2 separate regions of the Homo sapiens genome follow, and region 2 is linked to region 1. The links are contacts of gene promoters, found by promoter capture Hi-C in human tissues and cell types (Jung and others, 2019). All regions are on one chromosome and are shown on one strand. Each heading gives the region's core, a stretch centred on a gene start or on the middle of the fragment in contact. The rest is flanking DNA. Distances are from core to core; before and after follow the strand shown. Region 1 holds the start of ZFYVE27 (zinc finger FYVE-type containing 27). Region 2 has its middle 6.6 kb from the start of SFRP5.

Region 1 (7,932 bases), core at 5,418-7,917:
TGTAATCCCAGCTACCTGGGAGACTGAGGTGGGAGGATCCCCTGAGCCCAAGGAGGTGAAGGCTGCAGTGAACCATGATGGTGCCACTGTACTCCAGCCTGGGTGACAGAGTGAGACCCTGTCTCAAAAAAAAAAAAAAAAAAAAGAAGAAGAAGAAGAAGAAGAAAATATGGTACATATATACCAAGGCCGTAAAAAGAACGAGATCATAGCCTTTGCGGCAACATGGATGGAGCTGGAGGCCATTATCCTAAGTGAGCTAACACAGGAGCAGAAAACCAAACACTGCATGTTCTTATAGATGGGAGCTAAATACTGAATACCCACGGACACAAAGAAGGGAACAGACACCAGGGAGACACCAGGGCCTACTGGAGGATGGAAAGTTGAAGGAGGCTAAGGATTGAAAAACTACCTATAAATACACAGATACTATGCCTGTTAACTGGATGACAAAATAATATGGACACTGAATCCCCATGACATGGAATTTATCTATGGAACCAACCTGCACATGTACCCCTAAAACAAAAATAAAAGTTAAAAAAAAAAAAGAGAGAGAGATGGAGGCTGGGCGTGGTGGCTCGCGCCTGTAATCTCAGCACTTTGGGAGGCTGAGGTGGGTGGATCACCCGAGGTCAGGAGTTCGAGACCAGCCTAGCCAACATGGTGAAACCCCATCTCTACTAAAAATACAAAAATAGTCGGGCATGGTGGCGGGCGCCTGTAATCCCAGCTACCTGGGAGGCTGAGGCTGGAGAATCACTTGAACCCAGGAGGCAGAGGTTGCAGTGAGTCGAGATCATGCCACTGCTCTCCAGCCTGGGCGACAGAGTTATACTCCATTTCAACAACAACAACAACAAAAAGAAAAAAAAAAGAAAAAAAGAAAACGGCGTGTGATTTCTGAGGATGCATCAGAAGAGACTTTTGGCTTCCTTCCTGGCTCCCTGGTGGATCTCTTGTTCTGGGTTAAGGCATCCGCCATGTCAGGAGGACACTCAAGAAGCGTTCAGGAGAGCCCCGAGGGAGGACCTGGCACCTTCTGCCATCTTGTCACTATTGGAGAGTGCCAGCATCACCTTGTCAGCTGTGTGAGGAAGCCACCCTGGGAGCCGATCCTCCAGCCCCACTAAGCCTTCAGATGATTGCAGCCTTGACCAACATGTGACTGCAACCTTATGAAAGCGCCTGAGCCAAAACCATCACCAAGCTGCTCTTGATTTTCTGACTAAAAACACCCAGAACCCAAAAAACTGTGAGATAATACATGCTTATTGTTGTTTTAAGTAATTAAGTTTTGAAATACTTCATTACACAGCAAGAGATAACTAATGCAGCTAGAAGCATGAAAATATCTGGCATAGTGTGGAAATGGCGAGAAATGCATTGAGGCTGGCACGAGAGGTTAAAGCCAGAAACTTGGAGTTGAAAGAGATGCTTCTGAAATGCCATGTTTCTCCATAAGAGTGGGCAAGGGAGCCATCTGGTGGAGGAGGCATGCTTAGACATTCCCTTCTCTCTTCCCTGATTTCTCCAGCCTGTTCTCCTCAGCATTTCCACCTAGTATTTCTCCAAGGGCCACAGTGAGGTTTATGAGTCAAGTATGTGGGCCATAAACACACTTGCTTATTGAAGCAAATACTAACCTCTGCAAAATGTCAAGGTAAGATATTATCTTCAGTGATTATTTAATTTTCTCCCTTAGTCTCTTCTACCTGTCTGCTACCAAGGGGAAAACATCAGCAGCACCAGGAGTTGAGGCAGAATGCTGCAGGAGGGAAAGAAGGAACTAGAACTTGATTATGGAAAAATCAGAATTAGACTCGAGAGAGCACAGTCAAGCTGGTCCGTCTCTTAATTATAAGGGGAGGCCTTTATTCATCGCTACAGGCCACGACTATTGTCCCTTTCTGGTTTTTAAAGCCTTCTTGTATCCTCCAATGTTCCCTCCAGATAATGTCTAGAAATTCTTGAATAATATCTCTCAATTCTATAGCTGCTGGAAGAGAAAACAAATACTATTACTCTCCACTGTCAGACTGAGGCCAAGGAGGAGGAATTGCAAAGAAACTAAAATTTACCTTTGGAGTAAATTACCAGTGTGAGAATTTCAGGCACTTAGGATATATATATTATTATTATTTTTTCGAGACAGAGTCTTGCTCTGTCGCCCAGGCTGGAGTGCAGTGGCACGATCTCCGCTCACTGCAACCCCCGCCTCCTGGGTTCAAGCAATTCTTCTGTCTCAGCCTCCTAAGTAGCTGGAATTACAGGCACGCGCCACCACACCCGGCTAATTTTTATATTTATTTATTTATTTATTTTGAGACGGAGTCTAGCTCTGTCGCCCAGGCTGGAGTGCAGTGGCATGATCTCGGCTCACTGCAATCTCCGCCTCCTGGGTTCACACCATTCTCCTGTTTCAGCCTCCCCACTAGCTGGGACTACAGACGCCCACCACCATGCCCGGCTAATTTTTTTGTATTTTTAGTAGAGCCCAGGTTTCACCGTGTTAGCCAGAATGGTCTCGATCTCTTGACCTTATGATCTGCCCACCTTGGCCTCCCAAAGTGCTGGGATTACAGGCGTGAGCCACCGCGCCCGGCCTGATTTTTATATTTTTAGTAGAGACGGGGTTTCACCTTGTTGGCCAGGCTGGTCTCAAACTCTTGACCTCAGGTGATCTGCCCGCCTCAGCCTCTCAAAGTGCTGGGATTACACGTGTGAGCCACTGTGCCTGACCGGTACTTAGGTTATTAAAGAAAAAAATTTATTTTTCTTAAGAAGGGTGGGGACTCCTTAGCTTAAATACTACATTGTTGAACACAAAACTTTCCCCATCCTCTCACTTAGATTAAGTCTGCCTCTTCTCTCTGCTCCTACGGTTACAGTAGAATCCCCTGCTTTATATCATGGCTCAGTCAAGTCAGCGTCTTCTGTTGAACTAAGAGTTCATAGAGGGTAGAATTTCTGTCCAGTTCATTCTTGCTGGTTTCACAGTCATTGTTTTAAGAAATGATTCATGACCAGCCTGGGCAACATAGCAACACCTCATTCTACAAAAAAAAAAAAAAAAAAAAAATTGGCCAGGCACGGTAGCTCACACCTGTAATCCCAGCACTTTGGGAGGCTGAGGCAGGCAGATCACGAGCTCAAGAGATCGAGACCATCCTGGCCAACATGGTGAAACCCCGTCTCTACTAAAAATACAAAAATTAGCTGGGCGTGGTGGTGTGCACCTGTAGTCCCAGCTACTCGGGAGGCTGAGGCAGGAGAATCGCTTGAATCCGGGAGGCGGAGCTTGCAGTGAGCCAAGATCGTGCCACTGCACTCCAGCCTGATGACAGAGTGAGACTCCGTTTCAAAAAAAAATAAAAATAAAAATTAAGTAGCTAGGTGTTAGTGGTGTGCACCTGTAGTCCCAGCTCCTCTGGAGGCTGAGGCAGGAGGATTGTTTGAGCCCAGGAATTAGAGTGAGCTATGATTGCACCATTGCACTGCAGCCTGGGCAGCAGCAGAAGACCCTATCTCAAAAATAAAATAAAATTACATTAAAAAAGGAAAGAAAGATAAGAAAAAGAAAAAAGAAATGGGCATTGTTCTGGGGCTTTTGTTGAAAGAGATGTGAATTCTGTGCTCCAAGAGGAAACTGACACGCATGCGCTCATTCAAGGAACATTTGTTGGTACCTCCTTTGTGCTAGATGCTGGACACAGAAATTATAGGCAGTTCCCTCAGGACTCTCACTGTCTAGAGAGAGGAGGAGGCACCAAGTGCTGGGGTGGGGCAGGCCCACGGAGCCAAGTCAGAAGGGCACGTAATCCAGACAGTGGCTGCTGATGGGGAAGGTGTCAGAGAAGTCTTTCTTCAGGGGTGAGATCTGAGCTGAATTTTGGAGGAAGAATAAGAGCTGGCCAACTAAAGAATATGGGGCGCAGTGGCTCACGTCTGTAATCCCAGCGCTTTGGGAGGTCGAGGCAGGTGGATCACCTGAGGTAAGGAGTTTGAGACCAGTCTAGCCAACATGGTGAAACCCCATCTCTACTAAATACAAAAAATTAGCCAGGCATGGTGGTGCATGCCTGTAATTCCAGCTACTTAGGAGGCTGAGGCGGAAGAATCGCTTGAACCTGGGAGGCAAAAGTTGCAGTGAGCCAAGATTTCTCCATTGCACTCCAGCCTGCGCAACAAGAGCAAAACTCTATCTCAAAAAAAAAAAAAAAAAAAAGGTGAGAGTAGTCTGTAGAAAGGTACAGTAATGGGAGAAGGTGTGACATATCCGAGAACTGCCAGAGTTGAATACACCAGGCTTTGGTTTTATCCTGGAGGTCACAGGGGGCCACTGAAACTATCCACCAAGAGAGTGGTCTGAGAAAGGTACAGAGGGGTGGACAGGGTGGGGGATGGGAGTGGGTGGGGAGTGGCGATGGCCTATCCTGGAATTCAGACCTGAGGCCAGGTTAGGAAACGAAGAAGAGGGGCCTTCAGAGGCTATCTGCATGACAGACCCAGGAGCTTTCGGGGAAAAGACCCATCCTAAGGGAGGAGAGGCAGAGTCCAGCAGATGGGCCTGGACCACCACAAAGCTCAGTCCATTTCTCTAAGGGGTGGTGAGTGGATTTCTGTATATGGCTTAGTGATATGTGTGGGAATTGGATCTTTCTACATTTTGGCCTTTCGTGGATTCTTGTCTGATTTTTGGGCTAGGGGTGGTGGTGGTAGGGCTTTGAGTAAAAATAAAAATCACAATGATTGCTAACGATTTTTGAACACTTATAACATGTCAGGAATTTACATACTTTAGCTCATTTAATTCTCATCACAGCCCCACACTGAGGGTACCACTATGGTTATCCCCATTTTACAGCTGGAAAAACCAACCAAGCAATTCATCTGAGGAGAAGCCCTCCTACCTTACTTATGTTGGGACTGGCGCATGCCGGGTAATTGACAAAGTCAACTAAAGCAGGGAGCTTTGAGAAAAATACCTACACAGGGTAAGCATTTACTTTTGGGACAATCGTCAATTTATACATAGTTATAAGAACTAACACAGGGTGATCCCACAGACTACCCCCCAATGGTAACATCTTGCAACCCTTCTTAACAGAATGCCTACTATGTGCCAGGTACTGCTTTAGGTGCTGGAGACATAGACACGGGAAACGAAACATTAGCTGACAGAAGCCACAAGAGTGAATGAGATCCTCACGGAGTGCCTTGAGTCAGAAGAAAGAAGGGTAGCAAAAGGAGCCCCAGCATTTGAGGGGTAGGAAGAAAAGCCCTAAGGAGACCTTGAAGGTCGGAAAGAGAGGAGAGGGTGGTGTCATGGAAGCTAAGGTGGACAATGGTGCCAAAAAGGAAAGAGATTCCAGTGCTTCTGAGGTCATCTGCAAGGAGGACTGGGAAGTGTCCATTGGATTTAGCAGCCAGGATGTCACAGGTGAGCAGGCAGGTAGCCCAGAAATATGGAGGGGAGCAGGACCACAGTGCAGTGAGGAGTGAATTGGGCGAGGAAGCAGCGGTAGAGAGCACTTCACAGTGAGTCTTCCAACTCATGTAGGAAAGAGGGGGTAAAGTTAGGCTAAAGGAGAAATTTTCCATGAATTTTGTCTCTAGAATGATGATTAAGAGTTAGCGAGAGTCAAGATTTCAGGCCTGTTAGAGCAAAGCCCTAAGGAAATAAGAGTTGGACCCTGGAGCACAGCTAAGTCCTGGCTGGAGGGATGGGCCTGTCTTTCTGAAAGGAGATAATGGAGGAAGAGATGCAGTTAAAGCTCTGTGGCTACTTGAAGAGGGAAGTGATTACTTCCAGCTGGGGCACTCAAGGAAGGGATACAGACATTTGAGTGCCAGGGGCATTTGAGGGTAACAGTGGAGGGGTTCAGTTGGCCAAAGTTAAAGGCAGCTGAAAGATGGCAGGAGACAAGACCAGGAAATGCAGACCAAGGTGGGTGGTGGTATGGTTGGGGCGTTGGGGTCAGATGACACATAAGCTTCAAATTCCAGCTCCCATTTGCTTCTTAGCTGTGACTCTAAAGAAGTTCCTTAACACGTCTGAGATTCCCCATCTGTAAAATGGCGACAACCCTAATAGGGTCGTTGGAGGAGAACTAGATAATGTCTAAAAAGAGCTCAGTCCGGTTCAGTGCTTGGCTCCTCTGTACCTGAGCGCTAAGTCACTAATATAAAGCCATCGGATGTGTGCTTTAAGGGAAATTAACTGGGCCACACGGTGTGAAGTGAACTGAGCTGGGAGAGGCCTGCACAGGACCTTGTACACACTAGCTACTCCGGAAACAACTGCATGCTCTGCTGGGCATCTCATACAGGATACGGTGTCTTTCCGGGGCTCACACACAGTCCCCAGTTCAGTTCCAAAGTTGGAAGGAAAGAGGATGAAGACGTAAATTCTTCATTTAAGCCTCTCGCCAACTGTTCCCTGCGGCAAGGCAGGGCAACGAGCTGCAGGGTCGCCAAGCACGTGCTTCCAAGGGTCCTCAAGGCTTTGTGAACGGCGGCCGGCCAAGGACAGAATTAACTCCAGCCTGGAGCGCGCGGGAAAGACGCGCAGGCGCACTGCTGGCAAGGGTGCTTGCCTGTGCTGGGGTGGGCGGAGCTAAACCCGGAGCGGGATGACGTCATGAGGACGCAGCCGCAGAGCGATTCGCGTCCCGGAAGCGGCGGTGGCGGCCGCGGCGTAGGCGGAGGAGATTTTCGGACCTGCGACTTCCGAACAACCCTGGCAGGAGGAGCGGCGTTCAGCCGGGGGAGGCCTGAAGAAACGCTCCGGGGCCCAGTGGCTCTACCCCTGCTCCTGCCCGACCCTGCCGCCTCCCTCACGGAGCCAGCGGCCGGGTAGGTGAGGTGCCGTCCCCCCGCGTCCCAGTGTCTCCGCAGGCTGTGTGTAGTTGGGTGCTTGGGCGCAGCGGGGGCCGCCACATGCTGGCCCCACGACCTCGGGCATGGCCTTCCCTGTCCAGCCTCACGGGCTCCATCAGGCCCCCCTGGCTGCAGAGGTGTTGGCCAAGGCCAGTGCGGGCGTCGATATACCTCGCCCCTTCCTGGGCTCATACCTGGCGCCGCTCTGTGCCCTTTCGCCTTGGCTCGGCCTGCGGGGATTTCGGGGTCCCGTTGGCCCCTTTGTCCCATCCCCTCACCCTCCCATCAGGTCGCGGCTGATTGCCTGGGACTGGTTTATGTTGCTCTTCGCCGAGGTTCCGCCCCCTCGTTTGCTGCTTAGAGTTCAGGATAGGACTTTGAACTGGGAAAGACCGTAAAGGCTCCTCGGTTTCCTCATCAGAAAGGGCAGACGGGAATGGGGCGTTCTGATGCCGACTGCCCTGGGGCAGAGATGGCCCAGGAAGTTGTTGGGAACCGAAGGGAGTGGGAAGAGTTAGAGGATCGGGCGAGAGTCCTGGAGCACGGTATTTCATTCACTCATTCAGCAGGCATTTGTTAAGCACCCACTGTGTACAGAAGCAGTCGTGAATGGAGGCCAGTTAAGAGCAGGGAGTTTTACTTTGACGTGGTCAGTGCTCTGCACTTGATCTTAGCCACAAGGCCAAGAAGCGATGTGATGTGATAAGTGCTCTGTTAGGGTGAGTACGTGATCCTTTGGGAGCATCGGAGAGGGTCTCCCAGTCCAGAGTTGGGGGTGTTGGCAGAGACTTCCCAGAGTAAGGGAGTGATGTTTAAGCTGATACCTGAAGGATGAGTAGGAATTAACCAGGTAAAGAGTGGGAGAAAAATGTTCCAGGACATCATTTCATTTCAGCCCATGGGCTGCCTCGCTGCAGCGATCATTTATGCTTGGTTTTTATGATTTTTAGTTTTGATGGATCTTTGGGGAAAAGAGCATTGGATGGAGAGTACAAAGAACAGGATTTTAGGTCTGAATAGTTCACTTTCCCTTGCTCACAGGTTTAC
Region 2 (7,932 bases), core at 2,039-4,538, 41 kb after region 1:
GTTGCAGTGAGCTGAGATCATGCCACTGCACTCCAGCCTGGGAGACAGAGCAAGACTCCGTCTCAAAAAAAAAAAAAAAAAAAGAAAGAAAGTGGTGTGTGTTCTGAAAGCCCTTGGATGCCTTGGTTCTGGCTCTGGTTTGGGGCTCTGAACAGCAGTTCTGCCCCTGCACCCTGACTCTCCCACCCCTCCAGGCTTGGCAGGCTCCTGCCCTCCAGGGAAGGTATGGCCTTGGGCACTGACGGTGTGTTAGAGCCTCCCAGGTGGTTGTGCAAAGTGCTGCCTCCTTGGGCAGCTGGTCGGCTGTGCTGTTCTTGGCGTCCCAGTACCTGGCCTGGACAGAGCAGGGCTTTGTTTCTACTGGTGGTTATGTAAGAACTGCGCATGATCAGAGAGCTGTGAGTCCACACCTGACAGCTCCGAGGGCTGTAACGGGCAGAGGGGACTGGCTGAAAGCCTCCTGGAAGAGGAGCATGGACACTCTTTACCTGGCAGCTCTGTCGTGGGGACCCCCGGGGGCCCCTGACACGGGACAGGGTGAATGCAAGGAGGGAAACTTGACAGGAACCAAGCCGAGGTGAGGGCTGCACCATGGGGCTGTTGTCAGGGGAGCTCTCTCTCTGTGGCCATTTGACCTGGTTCTGCAGCCTGGGCAGGAGAAGGCTGCTCTCTGATGTAGTGCCCCTTCTTGCTGAGGCCGAACCAGGGCCTAAGCAGCAGGTGGAACACCTGGGCACTGTGCCGGGCATCTGTCCATCTTGGAGCATCCACAGCCTGTCCAGACCTTTCCCCCAGCTGATAAAGGGGACCATTTGTTCAAAAAAATGTGTATTCGTAGTTTGTTGTGAGCAAAGTTCTATATAAATACCTCTTAGATCAAACTTGCTAATTATGTTATCAAATTCTACATTTTTTCACTCTTTTATTGTCTATTTCAATGGTTCTCAAAGTATGGTCAGTGTTCCCCAGGGGGACCCCGAGACTCTTTCCGGAGGGGTATACAGGGTCAAAACTGTACATAATTCAAATGCCCATTCAAGGTACAAGATAGTCCAATGGATTTTAAGGTAATTGGGTAAGAGAAGCTTATTGATATGGTTTCAGATTCTGCATTACATTTAAGAAACTACACATGTCAGGCCAGGCGCGGTGGCTCATGCCTGTATTCCCAGCACTTTGGGAGACCGAGGTGGGTGGGTTGCTTGAGCCCAGGAGTTTTGAGACCAGCCTGGGCAACATGGTGAGACTCTGTTTCTACTAAAAATACAAAAAAATATCCAGGCATGGTGGTGTGTGCCTGTGGTCCCAGCTATTCAGGAGCCTGAGGTGGGAGGATCGACACTTGAGTGGGGGTTGGGGAGTGGGGTTTGTTGAGGGGAGGCAGTGGAGGTTGCAGTGAGCCAAGATCACGCCACTGCACTCCAGCCTGGGTGACAGAGCGACACCCTGTCTCAAGAAAAAAAAAAAGAAAGAAACTACACATGTCAGTCTTTGGGGTAGTATCAAAGAAGCATACTCACAATTAACTGAAAAGGCCATCAAAATACTCCTCCCTTTTCCAACTACATTTATGTGTGAGGCCAAATTTTCTTCATATACTTCAACCAAAACAACATATGGCAACAGACTGAATGCGGAAGCATATATGAGAATCTGCTGGCTTCTGTTAAGCCAGACATTAAAGAGATTTGCAAAAATGTAAAACAATGTCACTCTTCTCACTAAAATTATTTTTTGTTTTGAAAAATACAATTATTTTTCATAAAAATTTATATTAACATATAAACATTTATTATTTTAAAGCATTAATGCATTTAACTTTTTCCTCATTATTAATTCCAAATATGGTGAATAATGATAGGTATAAACCCACGTAAACAAAATCTCTTTGGGATTCTCAATTTTTTTCTTTTTTGAGAAGGAGTCTCGCTCTGTCACCCAGGCTGGAGTGTAGTGGCGCAGTCTCAGCTCACTGCAACCTCTGCCTCCTGGGTTCAAGTGATTCTCCCACTTCAGCCTCCCGAGTAGCTGGGATTACAGGTGCATGCCACCATGTCCGGCTAATTTTTGTATTTTTAGTAGAGACAGGATTTCACCATGTTGGTTGGCCAGGCTGGTCTCAAACTCCTGACCTCAGGTGATCCACCCACCTCAGCCTCCCAAACTGCTGGGATTACAGGTGTGAGCCACCGTGCCCAGCCTGGGGTCTCAATTTTTAAGAGTGCAAGGAGGTTCTGAGACCAAAATGTTTGAGAACTGCTGGGCTACTTAATCTGTGCATTTCTGATAGAGGTGTATGAAATCTATTGTGCATATGGGTTTGGCAATTTTTCCTTTTTTTAAAATCAATTTTTGCTTTATATACCTTAATGCTATGTTGTCAGGTGTATAAAAGCTTCATGATTATTATAGCTTCTGGTTGAATTGTAACTTCTATCTGTATGAAATATCCTTTTTTGTTTCTTTTAATGCCTTAGGCCTTAAGAATAATGATTTCATGAACCAACACTTAAATAGAACCTGCTATGGGCCAGGTATGGATGTGAAAGAGACTTGGTCCTTGTTGGTGTGGAGTACACAGGCACGGGAAGGCAGCGTATGTGGTGCGGCAGGCATAGTCTAGGCTTTGGAGTCAGACTGACCTGTGCTGAATTCTGAGCACTTCCTAGTGGTGTGTCCTTGGGCCTGTGTATGTTGGACCTTGAACCTCAGTTTCTTTATCTGTAAAATAGAGTTAATAGCATCTATGTACTGGTAGTGCTGGTTGCTGAAGGCTTCCTGAGATAATGAGTGACAGCAGCACCCTGCAGAGTGCCCTGTGTAGTAGCTCTGTGGTCAGTGCTGCAGCAGATCCGCCAGCCAGGAGATCTGCCCTGTTTATGCCTCCTGACAAGGCCCCCAGGAGAGGCAGTGTGGGGCAGTGGGGAGTACACCAAGCTGGGATTCAAAAGATCCTGAGTTACACCTTTTTAATTTACTAGCAAAAGTAATTTAATTACCTTTTAATTTACTGAGACCCTGAGTCTCAGTTGCCTCATCTGTGCGGTGGCGGGGACCACATTGCCCTGCATTCTCTGTGGGTTTATCTTGAGGATCCAGTGAGATAATGGAAGGGGCTTGGGATGATGATGGAGGTGGGGCTGAGGAATGGAAGGAGGCCCCCAGGTTCGCTGTTGCCTCCCCTGTCCCGGGCTATGAGGAGGCCTTGCCAGGACAGGCTTGCTTGGGCCCCCAGGAGGGCTGGGATGACTGAAGTGGTAAGACAGGGTCTTGTCATTATTTCAGACTCCTGGAATTGTCTGCCTTTTTTTTTTTTTCCTTTTTGAGATGGAGTTTCGCTATGTTACCAGACTGGAGTGCAGTGACTCGATCTCGGCTCACCGCAACCTCTGCCTCCTGGGTTCAAGCGATCCTCCTGCCTCAGCCTCCTGAGTAGCTGGGACTACAGGCGCGTGCCACCACGCCCAACTAATTTTTGTATTTTTAGTAGAGACGGGGTTTCACCATGTTGGCCAGGATGGTCTTGATCTCTTGACCTCATGATCCGCCCACCTCGGCCTCCCGAAGTGCTGGGATTACAGGTGTGAGCCACCGCGCCCGGCCAGTTGTCTGCCTTTTACAATCCCAGTGCTCCTCTGCTAGGGTGGTGTCTTCATAGCAGCTGCCATTAAGTGCCCATTAAAAAACTGGGGTGAGTGGTCTAATTAATGAAACTATCAGTGCTGGCAGGCACCTACTGTCCCCAGGCATCACCCTCCTGGTCCCCCACCATTTTCTATAAAAGGAAACTAAAAATTGGCCTTCCTGAGCCCGCAGTCTAGAGCTCTTCCTACCATACCTCCAGTTGTTTTACTTTCCTGCATTTTAGCTTTTGTCGGTTGCAAAGTCTGTCCCAGAGGCCCCCAGCTGTGCAGGGCCTCCCTGCTGAGCAGCCTGTGCTCTGGTTGGCAGTTCAGGCAGGCCTGCTCAGCATCGCTGGGTAGGCTGGTTACAGAGGGGCTTGAGCGAGACTTACTGGCAACTGAATCAACTGACGAGGGGGGCCAGCCTCGGTCCTCCCTTCCATGAGCCTAGCCACTGAGAGGCTCTCCGACTTGTCCTGATCTCACATGGCTTGAGGAACAAAAGCAGAGGCGAGGCTTCTCTTGGGCCTGGGGGCTGAGTCCAGCTCAAAGTGTGCCCGTCTGAAGCATGAAGGCAGGTGGGATGGGATGAGCACTGCTGGCATTCTCTAGTTGGGGCTATGGATGGAGAGAAGGCTGAATACTGCTCTCCTCTTCTGCCTGGGTTCCCAGCGCACCTGGAGTCCCTGGGCTGTGGCCAGTTGGCAACACTGGTTAGAAGCACATTGGAGAGGCTGTCTAATGTTTTGGTTAAGAGCGTGAACTCTGGGGCCAGACTGGGTTCTGATTTTAGCAATGCCACATGACCTTGGGCAAGTTATTTAACCTCTTTGTGCTCCAGTTTCCTCATCTGTAAAATGGGGATATTAATAACAATAATTTCTTAGAGAATTGTTGAGGTTAGAGTTAATTTTAAAAATTGTTTAGGACAGTGAACAGTAAGCACTGTATAATTGTTAGTTAATATTATTGAATGTGGGCATGACAGTGGTCTTTAGAGACCATCGCCAAATCCTGTAGCTCTTCACTCCCAGTTTCTCTGATATCCCCCAGCATTCTCCCTCCTTTTGCTCTCCGCACATCCTCCCTGCTCCCTCTGCAGTCTCAGTTTTCCACTCTGCAAGAGCCAACAAGATCATTTCAAACTGCAAACCTGATGGTCTCACCCTTCAGCTCAAGCCCCTCAGTGGCTCTTACTGTTCTTCGGGTAAAGTTCTTACCCAGGCTCTGGGTAAAGCTCTTACCCAAGGCCAGGTCCCCTTGCTGGGCACTGTCTGGAAGCGTGAAGCTCCCTTTGCATATATAATGACACTGGTCATTATATAACTGTGTTTATTTTATCAACGTCCTGGCTTCTCACTGGACTGAGAGATCCACAAGGGTATGCCCTCATCTTGTTCATCTCAGTTGCTCCCAGACCCCTGTCAATCACATAATGGGTGCTCCATAAATGTGTGGTGAATGAATGACTGAACGGATGGATGAATAGTTGGTGGGAGGAAGTAGTAGAAGGAAGGAATCTTTGGAGCCAGATGGGCTCAGGCGGGAGCCCAGAACCTTTTTCAGGACCTGTTGGAGTTCTTGAGAGGCCCAAGGAAGATCAGGAAAATTCTAGCAGGGAGCTGGTGAGGACCGAGTGGAGTGGAGTGATACGTCAGTTGCGGTGCTTGCTGCCGACTGGGGAGTGATGGACATGCTCCCTAAGTGTGGGTCGACCTCTCTTTCTCCTTCCTTTCATGAATACTTGTTTAGGGCCTCCTAGGTGCTTGGTATTATGTTCCCTGCTCTCCCGTATATTATTTCATTTCATCATCCGGATAGTACTGTGAGGGAGGCATTATTATCCCCATGTTATATGAGAAAATTGAGGTTCAGAGAGGGTCAGCAACTTGCCCAGAGTCACACAGCCAAGAAGCAGCAGAGTCAGGACTTGAACCCAGGACTTCCTCCTGTGGATATGAGAAGTGACTGGGGGTAATGCCACTCTGTTGAACACTGACCCAAACTGGCATGCTGGGGAAGGCAGCCCTAGGGGAGCAGACCCTTCCATGATAATCAAGTCACCGAGGTTGCAGCAGGTTTGACCCAGTTGGCTGGGTTGTTGCCTTTAGGGAGCTCACAGTCTAGAGGTAGAGGGGGAGCCAGCTGATATACAAATACGCAAATAGCTTATCATTGCAACTAGGGTGACTTCCTGGGAGATGGGTGGAGAGGCGCCCCAGGGCCTGCTCTTTGTGGGAGCTGGAAAGAGCACCAGATGCAGAGTGAGAGCTGCCTATGCCTATTAGGCTTTGCCTCTACCACTTCTGGGCTGTGGGAACTCAGGCACATGAATCCCTGTGCCTCAGTTTCCTCATCTGCAAAACAGGGACAGGAAGAACTTCTTTGTAGATTTTTTTGGAAGATTAAATGAGAGGTACTTGAAAGTGCTTAAAACTGCTAGTGTTAAGTATTCAAAGGGTTTTGTACAATCACAAGAGGTGGGCGGCATGGCCCCCCCACCGCTTTGCCTTGGCTATGGCTATGTGGGGCCCTTGGGACCCCAGATTTATAAAATGTTGCAGCTGAAAGCTCTCCTATATTCTCCTGACCACCCAGGGGCTGTGAAGGCGGTACTAAAGGTTCATAAATGATTCTCCATGTTTCCCCAAATCAACACAGAAGGGTTCATTTGCTGTAAACAAAACAGCAGACTTCTTTGCTTTTGGCTGAATTACAGCTCTCAGGATGGAACTCCTCTCATGCTGAACAGAAGTCGGCTGGCAGTCCCTGCATCTCTGATTAATATAAAAAACAGAGGCTGGGAGGGGGAACTGACTTGCTGGCACGGGACAATAGGTCAGAGAGGCTTCAGGCTACTTTGTGCTGGGCGCCAGGGGAGGAAGTGAGGAACCCCCAGGGAGGACCCTGGGGGCAGGATTGTGGAGGGGAAATCCAGGGCAGGAGTGTTAGGGGTGGGGGCAGGAGTGACAGGGAATCCTGGGCAGACAATGGCCTCCTTAAGGAGAGGGTGAGGGTGTGGAGAAGCGGCATGGCCACAGCTAGTGAGGGTGAGGAAGTAGCGGACTGAGGCTCTTCCCCCTAACCCCAGCCAATGGAGCAATTGTCCTCTGCTGGGAGGGAGCTGGGCCTGGGCCTGGGAACAGCTGGATGCCTGCCCTTAGGGCCACCGAGGTGGTCCTGGCCTCCTTGCCTGGTCCCAGAATAGCTCCTCTGTGCAGGCTGCTGATCCTTCAGGCCCCAGTAGGGGTTACCCAGTCCTACTTCTTCCAGTTGGCAGTTTGGGGTATGGATGCCCACCCAAGGCTCTCTGAAGAGGGGCCCCCACTTCCCTTCTGCCCACTTCTGGGAAACCTGAGCCCTGTTTAGGCTGGTCGCTGAGGCCAGGGCTCAGCCCACTTCCTGGAGCTGTCTGTTTCCAGCTCTACCCTGCTGCCCTGTGGCCGGCTGGCTTGGCTTTTGGGTCTCAGCTGCTTTACCTGTAAAGTGAGAGAGTTGAGCTATGAACAGCAGTGCCTCTCCCCCAGTGGATAGCCTGTCCGGCCTGGGGTGGGGCATGGGCTCAGTCCTCAGGACCCCTGGGGCTGGCACTCAGGGGAAGGGCCAGGGCTGCTAACTTCCTGCTGGGTTCAGCACAGCCCTACAGGATCAAGAACTGCCATGCCCCAAGAGCCGATAGAGCCCCTGTTGAGATGCACTGCTAGATCGATGCTTTTCACTCTTGTTGTTTTTAGGGTAGCGCCATCCTGTTTTCAAACGATGTGGCTTGTGGGAACTCGACAGATAAAACAGATGAAAGGGGCAAGTATGGTTAGGGCTGGTGGGGGGCCCAGTGGGAACCCTCCCTAGGCCCTCAGCCGGGCCTCTCTGCAGCTGGCTGTGCCCTGTGTGCGCGGTTCTGGGTGTTCTGTTCTGATTGATGGGGCATCTGCTGAAACTGGCAATGTCCGTGCTGTACCGGTTGTTACTCCTTACCCTGGCACATGCCGCAGGGTTTTGTCTTTTTGTTTAATCTAAGAGATAGGATGGGCAGACAGGGTTTGGAGATTAACTTCCTGTGGCTGTGAATTGTCCTTGGTCTCCTGGGCCAAGGCTTGACCAGGCTGGCTGAGACCAGGCTGCTGACATGGGCACACCCCCCAGCCAGGAGAGGAGAGGGGTTCCCAAACTTTATATTGCAAAGCAATCACTATAGAAGCTGATTAAAGTATATATTTAGATTGCGGGGCCACTGCACATATTCCAGTTCAACACCTGTGACTCCCAGGCAATTTTGAGGCAGTGGGCTGCAGACCAGGATGGGAAGTGC

Evidence for each region. Contacts are between HindIII fragments. The study calls those that stand out against the background at their distance.
Region 2: a fragment that was not itself captured here is called in contact with the fragment with the promoter of ZFYVE27 in region 1 in 1 of the 25 tissues and cell types used here (adrenal gland).

Annotation. Positions count from the first base shown.
Region 1 is chr10:97,730,461-97,738,392 of GRCh38, forward strand. ZFYVE27 (zinc finger FYVE-type containing 27) reads left to right here and starts at 6,668. Exons shown (of 13, transcript NM_001385875.1): 1 at 6,668-6,861. RefSeq lists silencers at 1,352-1,646, 6,864-6,933 and an enhancer at 6,384-6,533. The HindIII fragment of the contact is 10,455 bases long and covers 2,698-7,932 here.
Region 2 is chr10:97,774,635-97,782,566 of GRCh38, forward strand. No RefSeq gene overlaps it. Among named protein-coding and RNA genes, the nearest start is that of SFRP5, 6.6 kb to the left of the region's middle. RefSeq lists an enhancer at 198-492. The HindIII fragment of the contact is 7,465 bases long and covers 1-7,021 here.